5 separate regions of the Homo sapiens genome follow, and regions 1, 2, 4 and 5 are each linked to region 3. Evidence: promoter capture Hi-C in 16 types of primary human blood cells and fetal thymus (Javierre and others, 2016). All regions are on one chromosome and are shown on one strand. The core of a region is centred on a gene start or on the middle of the fragment in contact, and the rest is flanking DNA. Distances in the headings are between cores, read along the strand shown.

The links. The method cuts DNA at HindIII sites, captures the fragments that hold promoters and counts their contacts. A CHiCAGO score of 5 or more calls a contact.
Region 1: a fragment that was not itself captured here is called in contact with the fragment with the promoter of SETD9 in region 3 in 1 of 17 cell types (fetal thymus); the score reaches 5.0 in fetal thymus.
Region 2: a contact is called between a fragment that was not itself captured here and the fragment with the promoter of SETD9 in region 3, in 5 of 17 cell types (total B cells, naive B cells, erythroblasts and 2 more). The highest score is 9.7, in total B cells.
Region 4: a contact is called between a fragment that was not itself captured here and the fragment with the promoter of SETD9 in region 3, in 5 of 17 cell types (neutrophils, non-activated CD4 T cells, naive B cells and 2 more). The highest score is 10.1, in neutrophils.
Region 5: a contact is called between a fragment that was not itself captured here and the fragment with the promoter of SETD9 in region 3, in 14 of 17 cell types (neutrophils, naive CD8 T cells, non-activated CD4 T cells and 11 more). The highest score is 15.1, in neutrophils.

The regions. Positions count from the first base shown.
Region 1 is chr5:56,329,428-56,332,127 of GRCh38, forward strand. The region is part of intron 2 of LOC105378977 (a long non-coding RNA gene); the gene reads left to right. Among named protein-coding and RNA genes, the nearest start is that of ANKRD55, 97 kb to the left of the region's middle. The HindIII fragment of the contact is 1,837 bases long and covers 468-2,304 here.
Region 2 is chr5:56,251,023-56,253,852 of GRCh38, forward strand. No RefSeq gene overlaps it. Among named protein-coding and RNA genes, the nearest start is that of ANKRD55, 19 kb to the left of the region's middle. The HindIII fragment of the contact is 289 bases long and covers 1,217-1,505 here.
Region 3 is chr5:56,908,132-56,910,845 of GRCh38, forward strand. It overlaps SETD9 (SET domain containing 9), which reads left to right and starts at 1,465. Exons shown (of 6, transcript NM_153706.4): 1 at 1,465-1,612. The coding sequence starts at 1,515. RefSeq lists enhancers at 1,101-1,190, 1,981-2,030, 2,126-2,714 and silencers at 1,341-1,550, 1,731-1,940. The HindIII fragment of the contact is 6,770 bases long and covers 1-2,714 here.
Region 4 is chr5:56,289,632-56,292,591 of GRCh38, forward strand. No RefSeq gene overlaps it. Among named protein-coding and RNA genes, the nearest start is that of ANKRD55, 58 kb to the left of the region's middle. The HindIII fragment of the contact is 806 bases long and covers 1,114-1,919 here.
Region 5 is chr5:56,273,164-56,275,998 of GRCh38, forward strand. It overlaps the pseudogene PSMC1P4. Among named protein-coding and RNA genes, the nearest start is that of ANKRD55, 41 kb to the left of the region's middle. The HindIII fragment of the contact is 5,403 bases long and covers 1-2,835 here.

The sequences.
Region 1 (2,700 bases), core at 136-2,635, 580 kb before region 3:
GCTATCCATGGGGCTCTATCTGCATAACAAGATAGCCTTTGCTCACCATGCCTTTTCTCCCCTCTTCCTCCAATAACTTGTCTTGCCATGCCCCAAGCCTCTATTCCTTGCTGTATGGTATATAACCTTCAGCCATCTGGCTTTCCATTGAGTCTCATACTTTGTGTGTGGCTTCTGTGTCCATATGCACATTAATAAAATTTGTACACTTTTTTTTCCCTGTGAATCTGCCTATTGTTAGTTTGTTTTATAGACTCAAATTATTTAAACTTCAGAAGCAAGAGCGAAGGAAATTCTCTTCATCCCTACCCAGGCAAGCTGAGATGGTTGACATCACTGTTTGCACAATCACTAAGTCCAGGTTAGGAAAGAGAAGCAATGCCATACGGTGATTGAAACCCAAATTCTAAAGCTAGACTCACCTAGGTTTGAACCGTGACTTGTCAATTAGATGATGACCTCAGGCAAGCTTCAGTTTCTTTATGTGTAAGAAGGGAGAAATAATGTTGTATGCCTTAAACAGTTGTTGTGAAGATGAAATTAGCTAATATTTGTAAAGCACTTAGCACAAAACATTGTTCATAGTAAAAGATCAATTATGGTTAGCTTTTAAATTGATGTAAGAGTCTTTAGAAATGGATAAAATGATAGATATACTTTTCTCCCTTTTTTCTTTCCTTCCTTTTTCTCTTTCCTTCTCTTTGTTCTTTTTTCTTTTTAAAATGCAGGTGTAAATATAGAAGGGAGATGTGTTTCTGAAGGTCTAGCAATTGCTAGAGCACTAAAATACCTCTTTTTTTTTTTTTTTAACCAGCGCTCATTACTGTCTGTCAACTCTAAATGCCACCCAGACATTTCTAGGTAGTGCAATTTTGCCCTGCCAAGTGAAAGCATTTCATGACGCTCAATCATTAGGCAGCTATTTAAAACAATTTTCTTTCAGAGCTTCTCCTTCCCTTGGGCATTCATGCTGAAGACTCTGTCAAAGTGCCTATTTCCTGGAATCTGGCTATAGCAGACTTCCCAGAGGTTGGTACACCAGACTAATCATTTTTCTAAGGCAGCACTGGAGCCCTCAGGATACCAGTTGAATCTGATCCACATGGTAGCTCTGGGAACACAAAATGCTAATGATGTGGAACTTAGGCCACTGGTATTTATTCTATTGTTGTTTGCTTATTTATTTATTATCCGTGCAGGCCAACCAAAAGATAAATTTGGGACCAACCTCAAACAAGGTAATTGGAGTGTTCATTCAGTAGTCTTAGCTTACTTGTACTGGCCATCTTTATGTCTTTAGTGAGTCCATATTAGAAATGACGGTGTCTTTTTAGAAGGATGAACTAAGCAGAAATGTAGAAAAATCAGAATTTTTGAGATTCAACTTTGAAGACAACCTCCTCCAATTCCTTGGAGAGTATTTTGCTCATTTAATACTTGGTTACATTGTAACATTTTGCAACCCACCAGGAAATCACTCTAACAGTAACTGCTCGTCAAACAGTGACAAGAGGATTTGGGGAAGGCAAACAGCTGCAGATTCAGATGTGGGAGGGAGGTGGGCAGATGATGGGGGAATGAATCTTGAGTGTCCACATGCCAGGGAGAGGCTCAGCCAGGAATGACACTCCAGGGTGACTGACAGTCAATGAAACTTGCCATTCTAATCAGCAATAAAAAGGAATGAGCTGTTGCTATACACACAACAGGGATGGATATTAAAATAAATGTGCTGAGAGAAAGAAGCCAGACCAAAAAAAAAAAATAGTGCCTACTGCCTTTCATTTATATACAATGCTAGAAAATGGAAACTATTTCACTGTGACAGAAAGCAGATTAGTAGTTGTCTGTGACTGCACTGCCACCATTCAACCTGTTTCTTAGGTCAGTAATTTGGCATCACCTTGAATCTTCCTTCTCGCTCTCGCTCCTGGTGCCCATTGACTCAGTAGACAGGCCCTAAAGAGTCTACCTTGTAAATTTTGTTCATAATCACCCTTTTCTCACTGTTTTCATGGTCACTTTCTTAGGTCCAATCTTCATACATCTTTTCTATTTCTTATTTGTAGTAGTCTCTAAATGGTTTCCTTCCCTCTATTTCCTGCCTATTCTAATTTATCCTTCATACTGTTTTCTGAATAACCATAAAATATTTTCTATCTTTAAATATAAAAAACAAAATTATAAAATATTTAAAAAATCATTTAAAATGTGCATAGAATTACAAACACTTCAGTGCCTATAACCCAAGATTAAGGACTGTTCACATTTTGGAATTTGTCTTTTGTGTATTATTATAAAAGAAGCTTCTCTTTTAATGGAACCATCTTTGCTCTACTTCCCATCTTCTATGCCATGGGTGCTCCCCAGTTTCCAACACTGTCATATATTTGTATATATCTATTTAGCTCATGTTGCGTACTTCTAATAAATATATGTATTCCTGTTTAAAAATTAAATAAATGATATAATATTGTATATGTCATTCTGCAACTTGCTTTATGACAAGTGTTTGATAACTATGTGTGCTGATATAGATGAAGATGAAATTGACTCTATACTGCTATATAATATTCTTATTACATTATACATTATGCATTATCTTGTGGGTGGGGCATTTGTGCTGTTTCTAGTTTTTTGCTGTTAATAGAATTTAAAAAATAAATATCCTTGTGTATGTCCCTGTAGTGAACTGAATGA
Region 2 (2,830 bases), core at 111-2,610, 660 kb before region 3:
ATGTAATCTGGCTTTAGCTCCCTAGCTGCTGAGGGCAAGTACTACTGTGCAGATGCTCTGATGGACAACTGTTCTGATGGAAGTTAGGATCCAGGTCACCTAGGGCCACACTGAAGTTTTTAATGGTTGGAGGAATTGATTGACAGCACCTGCTGTGAAAAACATACAGACTTAAATAATATTTCCTGCAAATCTCAGGGTTCCCAATATCTAAGCATTCACTGTTATTTTGGCGGTGGGAATGGGGCCTTGGCACTTTAGCCCAGGTGGTATAGAATGGTGGGAAGAATCGTGAACTTGGTGTCACAAGAAGTGGGCTCAAGTTCTCATTCTTCTTTGCACATGTTAGATGCTCAATCAACACTCGTTTAACTGAAATAATTATTTGCCCAGCAAACCACCCAGGACTCTTGCCTACTTAGTTTTATGCTAATGCATCTGCTATCCAGGTTGGGTCAAACACTGAGAGAGCCTAAATGGAGGTTAGGCATCTGGGCCTATAACCTAGGTGTCCACAGGCAGGAGTTAGTAAGCCCAGGGGCTTGGAAAGGGGTTTCTCTCTGAAGGGAGATTGAGACAGGGAGATGCAGGGTTGATGATGTTGGCTGCTGGACCCAGATCTGACCCTTTAGACAGAGAAGTGGGGCTCAAGCAAAATCCTCTCCTGCTTTAAGCCAGCTTGGTATTTCTCTGGTATCATCTATCTAGCTTTTCTCTATCTAGTTCTGCCTCCAGTTTCTTTTTTATTTCAAGATAATTTTAACCTCTGAATTCCTCTTGTTATGTGTCTTGAGAAAAAGTCCCAATATTCAGAGAGTCATAAACTATATTAGAGCAAGAAGTTATCTTAATCATCTTCAGTTTACACAGAGACCTAGAGAGCTGCTAATTAACCCAATCATCATCAGAGAAAGTAATTTTCTTTTATTTGTAAGAAGAAAATTAAGGAGGTTTGAATTATCATTTGGCTGGTTAAGGCGACACTCCCATTGCATGAATGCAGTGTCAACAATTTAATGACATCAAGAGATGGGAGGTTTCCTTTACACGCTCTCCCAAAGGATGTTTTCACATGTGGTTCTTTCAGATAACAGTTTTGAAATGTTGAGTGACACCCAGCACATTTTCTATTTGATTTCACAATCTTTTTGTAAGACAGAATTAAAAAAAAATCTATTTCCTTCCCGCTGGAAATAGAGCAAGCAGATTTACATTAAGCTTATGAAGCAGAAAATTAAAATTTTTGCAAAACCATGGTATGTATTATTTGGTCTACATTATGCTAAACAATTGGTTTTAGTCACTTTGGGCCCCTAAAAGTGACCATTTTTTGGTATGTTATAGACCCAGCCTGTATGTTTCTTGGTGAAATGGTGACTGAATCTTTCTTTGGCCTAATATGTCCTATTTGCCTGTGAGAGATCTGATGTATGAGTTATACGTGTAGCAATATGGCAGCCTTTAGGCAAGTTTAGATGAAATATTTCAGCTATGTGTAGGATTTAAGCTTCCAGGAGTTTATATTCTGACATTTCCCTCTTTCTCCCTCAGGGAAAGAAATTCTATTAAAATCCAAATTGAAAAATGGAGAAAAAAATGAGATCTCAATTTGCAGCAGGAAATTTTTGGCATGACTAGGCTTAGGGAGACAAAAGACAAGTTTGAAGAGCTAAATCTGAATTAATCTCTACATCTCTAATCAAACAGGTTTATGCTTTCCTTCATCCAGTTAAACAAACAAACTAAAATTCTATGGGCATACCTACACACATAATTGTTCTTTTGTTATAATATTTTCTCTGTTATAATTCAAGATAAAAATAACATACTAGGAAAGGTTTTGGCTATTTGCTCGATAAACTAAGATATGTCAGAAGTGATTTTCAACATCAGGCTATTAATAATATTTGATGGGAATAAAGGTTGTTATGGTGATCTCTGAATTCCTTTTTGTCAGTGATAAAGTCTACACCAGGATATCAGCCTGTTTAAATGCTTGAAGAAATGTTCGTGTAGTTCTGTCTGCATGCAATGGGCTCCTGTGTATGAAATTTCATGGCTACCATGCACAAATAGGAATCCAAATCAGAATTCTTATTTTTCTCTTAGTAAAAAACCCAACAGCTGAGTTAGAATGGTGTATTAGAACAACTCATCCATCAGCCATTGATTAAGAAGTAGGTATTGAACACTCATTAAGTGCCTGGCCCGATGCTGAGTGTCATTATTTGTTATTCCAAAATGCTTCATAAATGAGCAGCCCAGCTCAGATCTGATGCACTCTCAATTCCCCAAACCTTTGCCAAAATTGTTTTTGGCTGGAACAAAGATAAACATGTAGAATCTCTTTTTCTCTGACAGGAATAGCTGACTATATAGTATACTTCTCGTTTTTCAAAATCCAATTCTCAATATATATGGCTAATTAAAAAAATACACCAACAGTGAGATAAAATAAATAGTAAGCTATACACTTGGGAAACTATTTGCCACAAATATGCCAAAGAATTAATATCTTTCATATTTAAATATAATATGTTTCAATAAGAAAAACATCAACATAACAGAAAAATAGGTACAAGTGAATAGTTTATAGAGAAGGAAAAATAAGTCATCAATAAGGAAATGAAAAGATGCATTTTTTTTAGTCTAGTACATGGTAGCTATTCAATAAGTATTTATTGAATAAATGAAGAAATTCATTACTAAAGAAAAAGGGTTCAATATTGGTAGCAATAAAACATTAAAATTTCAAACAATAATTATATTTTGCCTCTCAAACTAGCCTATATTAGTATATCAGTCTGAGTCTAATGAGGAGATAGAAACC
Region 3 (2,714 bases), core at 215-2,714:
TCGGCTCCCTGCAACCTCCGTCTCTCAGGTTCAAGCGATTCTTCTGCCTCAGCCTCCTGAGTAGCTGGGACTACAGGCACGTGCCACCAACGCTCGGCTAATTTTTGTATTTGTTCTTTTTTAGTAAAGACGGGGTTTCGCCATGTTGGCCAGATTGGTCCCGAACTCCTGACCTCAGGGGATCCACCCGCCTCGGCCTCCCAAAGTGCTGGGATTACAGGCGTGAGCCACTGCGCCCGGCCTTGGCTGAGTTTTTATTAGATCTGAGCCGTTCAATTTCAATAGTTTAGGATCCAACCTCACTCTCAGGCAAAGAATAGAGGAAATGATACCAACGTATTTATCTGTCAATAAACACTTGGTGATTTGAATATGGTTAAGGGATTCCTGTAGTTTGCCCCCCTTAAAACTGAACTTTGTCCAAACCTGTTCTAAATATGTGTGTGCGTGTGCATGCATCTGGGTGTTGGGGAGGAGCGGTCGTAAAGTTCCTTTTAAATTTCACCTATGGGGGACTACTTCCCACCTCATCCTATGAAGTCAACATTAGCCTAAATACCAAAGCCAGATTAAGACACTACAAGAAAACTACGAAACAATATCTCTCACGAACACAGATGCAGAACTTCTAGACAAAACGTTTCCAAATTGAAGCGAAGACCATATTAAAAGGACAAAAGCACCTCAGTGGTTGCTTGGGGACTGGGGGAGGGGCTGGATTACTATCTTGGCTGTGGTGTCGAAAACCTATCAAATTGTTCACTTTAAATATGTGCAGTTTATTGTATCCCAACCATTCCTCAACAAAGCTGTTTTTCAGAAACATTTGTCCATGTAGTTTTGCCTTTGAATGGTTGGGTCAATGAAGAGAAAAACGAGTGAAAACAGGGAATCATGACACTTTGTTTTTTTACGTGTAAATATTCGCAAAACGCCCAAACTGGTAACTTTGGGAACACGGGTTCACGCAGAAGAAGGGCTGCTGTCTGGGGAGGACTGAAACTCGGGTTCCCGAAGTCGGGCTGCTCTGGGGCCACGGAGAGAAGGGGAGAGAACGTCGAGGAAGAGGCAGAGCTCAAGTGGACGGAGGATGGAACACAGAGCGCGGCCGGGACAAAGGGGCAGGCCAGACAGCCGTGACAGAGAAACTAGGCGGTCCGCTCCTGGGACGCGGTCTCGGGGGCGGGTTCGCCCCTGAGGCCCGGTGACCCTTCGCCCGCAACCAGGGCTAGCGCTTGTGTGCGCCCACGGAAGCACCCGAGCGACCGGAGAAAGAAAAAGTGGTCAAGGGGACCTCCTTCCAGCTCTACGCGCCTCTCATTCAGAGAGGTGAGGTCAGGAAAGGGGAAGGACGAAGCCCCAGAGCAACAGAAGTCAGGCGGTGCCAGGAACACTGAGAGCGGAGCCAGGGGAAGGCGGCCGAGCGCGGCCCCCTCTCCTCCCGGGCCGGGGCGGGCCCGAGGCCTCGATCCGCCTTCCCCGCGCCGTCCTGGTCACGGCCCCGCGGGGCAGCCATGCCTGGCCGTCTGCTGCGGGGCCTGTGGCAGCGATGGCGCCGTTACAAGTACCGCTTCGTTCCCTGGATCGCACTGAACCTAAGCCACAACCCGAGGTGAGAGGGCGGGACGGCAGAACGAGGGGCACCTGCCTTCGGTTCCCAGACGCCACCACGGCGGCGGGACGCAAAGCGGAGAGCCTGAGGCTGACTGCCGGCCTGAGATGGGCGGGCCCGGGTGGGCAGGGACTGAGGTGGGCGGGCCGGGTGGGCGGGGACTGAGGCCTCGGAGGGGTTTAAGGAACGCGGGCCAGAGGCGGGCGGGGCCGAGGTTGGTGGAGTCCGAGGCCCGCTGGAAGCCTGAAGTGGGCGGTGGCTTCAGGTGGGCGGGGCCTATGGCCTCTTTCCCAGTGTCCGCTGCGCTGCCGGGCCCGCGAGGCCGAGCTCGCCAGCCGGATGTGTCGCCTGTTCTTCCCTGTTGCGTTCGGCACTGACTGGGGAGCTTGTATCTGGGCAAAAATGGAAACTTTTTAAAAAGACTGCCCTTACCGCGTGAGAGTGCGTGGCTTTTTCTCCACCAGGGGTTAATTAGGTGCTTGAACTTCCTCAGAAAAGCCAAGCCAGGGTTTATTTTCATAGTTCATACAAGTACTTCACGTGGTTAAAGAAGCCCATCCCGGCTGTGAGAATAGCGTGCAGTAGCTCGCGCGTTAAGAACGGGCAGAACGCCACTCAAAAGCACGTCGGGATGGTGGGTTTCGGATTGGGGTGAGTCCCGCCGGCGTTATTAAGGGCGCACCAGTGATCAGCTCAACACCGTGCTCACCAAAGAGGCCGACCGGGCCTCCCTGAAGTCAGTGTCCGACAAATAGGGAAACAAAGCGGTTTCCGGAAGGTTGCATGCTAGGGAAACAGGAGATCAGTTGTATCATGACTCGGAACCGTGAGGCGGGAATTACAACCTTTTTGTTCAAGTAAAAATAATGCAGTTAGTACAAAAAGATAATGATTATGGAAATAAGAGGTGCAGTCATTGAAGACGTTAGTCGTCCTGGAGGGAGTGTCACAAAGTATACGATGTTGAATTTGTCTTTGAAACTACAAGGCCATTTTTAAAAAGCCATTGAATGTGAGGTCATTCATTCTCATTGTGATGACATTCAGCTTGGCTGTTGGGTGTAGTACGGGAAAGAGCTGAACTTCGTTTCTGCCTCTGGCT
Region 4 (2,960 bases), core at 267-2,766, 620 kb before region 3:
ATGAATAATTTGTATTACACATAGGTCTCATGCCATATTTAGAACATATATGAAACAATTATTTGTTATGTATCTAAACTTCAGATTGAGCTGAGCATTCTAATTTTTATTTGCTAAATCTGGCAAGCCTAGCTGTGTTGTAATTCAACTGTGTATGTGTCTGTTACACTTCACTGTGAACTCCTGAAAGGCACTTGTGTCCAAGTGAGAAACCAGACTACAAGCTCCTATGGGATACATGTTACTCAAATAGAAAAAAAGATGGAAAAAAAGAGATAGATCAAAAGATAAATAAATGTCACTACTTGTCTTTTTTACATTTGGAAAAATTAAAAAAAAAATGTCAGGCTACATGAAAGATCCAAGTGATAGTGCACCCTATATCCAGCATTTTCTTTTTTTAAGAGATGGGGTTTCACTCTGTCACCCAGACTGGAGTACAGTGGTGCAGTCATAACTCACTGCAGCCTCAAACTCCTGGTCTCAAGTGATCTCCTGCCTCAGTCTCCCAAGTAGCTGGGACTGCAGGGATACACCACCATGCACAGCTATTTTTTCTTCTTTTTTGTAGAAACAGGGTCTTGCTGTGTTTCCCAGTTGGTCTCAAACTCCTGGCCTCAAGAGATTCTTATCATCCTCCCAAAGCATTAGGATTATGGGCATGAGCCACAGCGCCCAGCCCTAGCAATATTTTGAAAATCAAAAGCATTTCCAAAAATAAGGGATAAAAATGATAGAGGCAGAGTGGATGAATATTTTCTTTTGTGGAACCCAAGAGTTATGGCTAACATATAGAGTAATAAAAATAGTGACAATGAAATAATATTAGTTATTGTGAACTTGTGTCAATATATTTTAAGCGCATCCCCATCAGAGCCTTACAAAGCCCTACGAGGCAGGTACTCACCACCAGAGACTGGATAATTTCAGTTTCCAGTTGTGAGCCTTGTTAGCTTTGGTTTCAAGAGATATTCTACTTCCTCCCCAGAAACCCACGGGGAAGCTAACTGGGTAGGAGAGTTGTTCAAAGGTCTACCTTATAAACTGAAAATAATGCATGAAGTTGCAAGGTTTCTGTGTGGGATTTGGACTCAGTCCCATTTCATCTTGGGAAGCTTTCTTTGCCTGTAAGGGTTTCTCAGATGTCCACTTTTGTCTGAGTCTTGTGGCCATAAAACTGCCTTTACCAAAAGTTTATTTTAAGGGCTATGACTCGGGGACATAAAGAAATGTTTGAAGAAGGGAAAGGGGATAAAAGCATGCAAGATTCTGTATGGAATGGAACATTTGATACAGCCACCCCACTTCCTTTAGTTGAGCACATGGTGGGAGACCATTCAAAAAGCCAACAACTTGGGTAACAGCCCTTAAATTGACATTGTTTAGGCATGAATGGATCCAATTGGTTTTAAATGTTTTGTTCTCCACATAATTCCTATTTTAAGAAGATTGGTTACTATAGAGACTAGAGCTGCCTTTATTCTGGATGTTCAAGAGAGGACATGTTGACTAATGGTTAGAGCAGAGGTCTAAGGTCCAAGGTCCTAGTCCTAGCCCAACCACAGACTCACTGAGAGCTTGTCCATAACTCACTCCCCATGCTGCAATTCTTCCTTAGCTAATGAGGAGCAAAAAATATCTTTGATGTGGCCCTTTGGGCAGTGATATTTACATACTTTGTTATTGATGCTGGGTGAGATGGAAGAAATGGGGTGAGGGAGAGAGCAATTCTAACATAAAATGAATTTTAAGATATTGAAGTTGGAAGGTTATTGACCTGCTAAATAAGCTGGCAAATGGGAAGTAACTACTCATCACAGCATCACCTCTGGGACTGGGACTTGGCCAACAGTGGCTCAGAGTACTTTTTTGAAAAGTGTATGTTTGTGCATGCGTATGTGTACATGCATGCATGCCAAAGCTTAAGCTCCTAAGGGTAAGATATAAAGGCTGCAATTTACAAATCTATATAAATGATTTATCCCTAACCTTCAGAAAGAATTCTTTTATTCTCTAGCAGAGTGCATGAGTTTTAGTTTTTTAAAACAATTTTTTATTATGAAGAATTTTCAGACACAAAGTTGAGATGCTAATAGTGTAAATAACTCCAATATATCTGTTACCCAGCTTCAACAGTGAACATTCTGTCATTCCTGTTTCATTTCTCTCATTTTAAAACATTTCTTTTCTGAATCATGTGCAAATCCCAGATGACATATTGTTTTACTTGCCAATACTTCGGTATGCATCTTTAACAGATAAAGCCTTCTTTCCATAACCACAATGTACCATTATCACACTCAACAGAATTAACAACTTGTTAATTCCTAATATTTATCTAATACCTAATGCATGTTCAGTTTTCTCAGATTGCCTCAAAAATATTGGTTTTTAATAGTTGGTTTATTGTAATTAGGATTCACATATGGCCCACATATTACATTTGTTTGATATGTTTGTTAAGTATTTTTAGTCTATAATAATTCCCTTTTCTCTCTTACCCTATTTTATCTGGAAACATGTCAAACATTTTTGGAAAAGCTGTTAGGCAAATGCAATGAACTCCCACTTGCCTTCACATTTTACACATTTTCTTATAGTTCCTCTCTCTACGTGTGTGTTGGGGGTGAGCTTATTATTGTCATCATCAACATTATTTTGCTGAACCATTTGAGAGCTTTCAAGTTTGTTGCAGACATTGTGGTATTTTATGCTTAACCATTCGTGTGCATTTCCCCTATGAACAAGGGCATTCAAATACAAAGTCATATTATAAATAATTGTAAATATGGCACTGAGAAAATTTAAGGATTATGTTTAACTAAGGATATTATTATTCATTTTATATTCAAATGTTCCCAGTTGTCTTTCATAGCTTTTCAAAAATGTCCTTTATAGCTTTTTAAAAAAAATCTAGGCACAAATGTAGAATCAAATATTGTATTTATCAAGTCTCTTTA
Region 5 (2,835 bases), core at 264-2,763, 630 kb before region 3:
AATGCATCAATAGATTTGAAAGCTGGAAGGTGAAAGTTGAGTAAAGAATGGGATGTTTACACAGTCTAGGGGTATCTCTCCAGGAAACACTTGTTGACTGCAAAGTAAAAAAAGGTAATTGGTGGTAACTGGGAGATACAGGGTTTCTTTTTGGAGTGATGAAGACATAGTAGAATTAGATCATGGTAATGGTTGCACAACATTATGAATTTACTAATAATCACTGAATTGTACACTTTCAAACAGTGAATTTTATGTTACATGAACTTATCTTTAAAAAAATAAAATTAATTTGACAAATCAGTTACATACTCTAGGCCTGGGGAAACAACAGTCAAGAGGTAGAGTTAGCAGAACCAAGTGGCTCAGAGGCGGACCCATTGACTGAGCTCAACCCCCTGGAGATGGGCATCGCCTGGCTGTTGCTAGTGCCTGCCAGGGGGAATGGGAGGCTGGTTCTGGGGCTACTGAAAGCTGGAGCCAACTATGCTGCTGGAGCAATACTGCTGCTGGAGAGACACTCCCAGAAAGTGCAAAGACCAGGAAGGAGGGTCCCTTTCCTTCCTCCCAACCTCCAGTCACACTCTAAGGCTTCTGCCGGCAGCATCTAAGGGGAAATGAACCAGATGGCTTACCATATCCAAGAGCAGAGTATAGAAAGGTGGGCTTGGATCCAAGAGACAATAGATAAATAACCAACACGCAGAGAACAATGGAGAATTAACAGCTCATACAATGAGGGGAGAGGATTCTTTTCTCATATAATTATTTTCTTCTCTAAAAGAGTGATTCGTTAGATCTTAAACTAAATGTTGCTTAATTTTAGAATAACTTCAGGAATATTTTTATAAATCAGAAAAAAATCTTATTCCTTTATATATGCTAATTCTACATCTGAAAACATTTTTCGGTTCTTACATTGCTCCCACCTCCTTGACCCTTAGGTATAATGGAGAGAATTCTGCATCCTAGTATGCATACGCATTCCCACCTGGGTGCCTTTGCTCTGGGTGCCTTCCCACCCAGAGGCCCTTCTTTCCTCTTCTCTGCCTGAGTTCTATTCTTCTTCCATCAATGAAGCCTTTTCTGTGCACATCAGTTAACAGTGACATTTTCTTTCCTGCTTCTGAGTCCTCATGGGACGAATTTCCAGGTTATGCTTGGACACACTGTCTTGAGTAACCAGCTAAGTTTTCATAGATGTGTGCTCATGTCTATTTATTACATGGATGGTTCCTGACATGCCCAGACAGTGTGAAGCCTCAATGAATATCCGTTCATGACTGAGCCTCTATGGACATTTGAGAACAGCTTTAAAGTGAATAACTGTATAATAATTTTATGGAAAATATTCAAATTTTCCAGGAAAAGGGATGATCGGATGACAAGAACACCTCTGTTTCTGTCCCCATTATTTCTACTAGTCATTCACTTTTGCATGAGCCAGAGTTGATACTCTTATTAAATGCTTGGTGTTTGGAAAAGTTTGTGAGGCCAACATTTGCCTTAGGTACTGGTCAGACAAAGCTGAACCTGATGAGAGAGAAGAGGTCATCAGATTGCACATACTTAAAAAGTAAAGAAACTCTAGGTAGTCTTGCCTCCCACCCAGGCTTAAAGAGTTGGCATCAAGGTGCTCAAATGGACCCAACACAGAGACTGGCGATGCTTTCAGGTTTGGTTCTGTTTGCTGCTCTTATAAACTCATTTTGTGTCCAAGTGGCTTGCTCTGTCAGATGAAACCTTGGAAAGGTAAAAAATCCTTCTCAAGTCAAATTTTCATCTTCCTTTGAAATCTCTGAACCCATTAACTCGGGACATTAACCAGCACTTTCATGTTACCCACCTGAGACCACCTCTTGTTCAGCATCAACCATCTTTTTTTTTTTTTTTTTTTTTTTTTTTTTTTTTTTTGTGAAAGAGCATGCTTTATTTGGAAGCAGAGTGCTGCACAGTGACCGACAGATGAAGGCCACCCATTGGGCACTCACACATCGTACTCCAAAATACACACAGGATGCTTTGCTAATAAAAATCAATGGGAACAGGGATTCCTCTGGGCAACTCCCCCAACCTCATCCCTTTCAGGGGTTGGGAAATCTCCCAACCATCTTCCTGATGGCAGCGGTGGTTCACTAGAGATAAAGCCCCTCAGGGATGCCTTCGTGTTTCTTATAAAGAACACTTTCTATAGATTTTTTGAAGTCTTCATTTGTTGCTTTCATTCTATGTTCTCTTAAGGCCATCAGACCAGCTTCTGTACAGATTGCCTTGATGTCAGCACCAGAGAAGTCATCTTTAGCCATGATCAAGTCGTCCAGGGTTACATCATTGGCCAGTGTCATCCTGCTTGTGTGAATCTGAAAGATGTGCTTCTTAGTCTTTTCATCAGGCAGGTGGAACTCGATCTTCTTGTCAATGCGGCCTGGTCTGATAAGTACTGGATCCAAAGTTTCTACTTGTTTTGTGGCCATGATAACTTTCACATCTTCCCTAGAATCAAATCCACCCAATTGGTTCAACAGTTCCAATTCCAACATTGTTTGCTGAATTTCTCTCTCACCACCAGAATTGGAGTCATATCTTTTTGTCCCAATGGCTTCAATTTCATCAGTAAACATGATGGATGGTGCATGTTCTTCAGCAACTTGAAATACTTGCCGTACGAGTTTGGGCCCATCACCTAGGTACTTCTGAATAAGTTCAGAGCCAACCACTCTCAAGAAAGTGGCTGAGGTTTGGTTTGCTACTGCTTTGGCTAACAAGGTTTTTACCTGTGCCAGGTGGACCACAGAGAATGACCCCTTTAGGAGGCTTTGTACCCATCTCTTCATA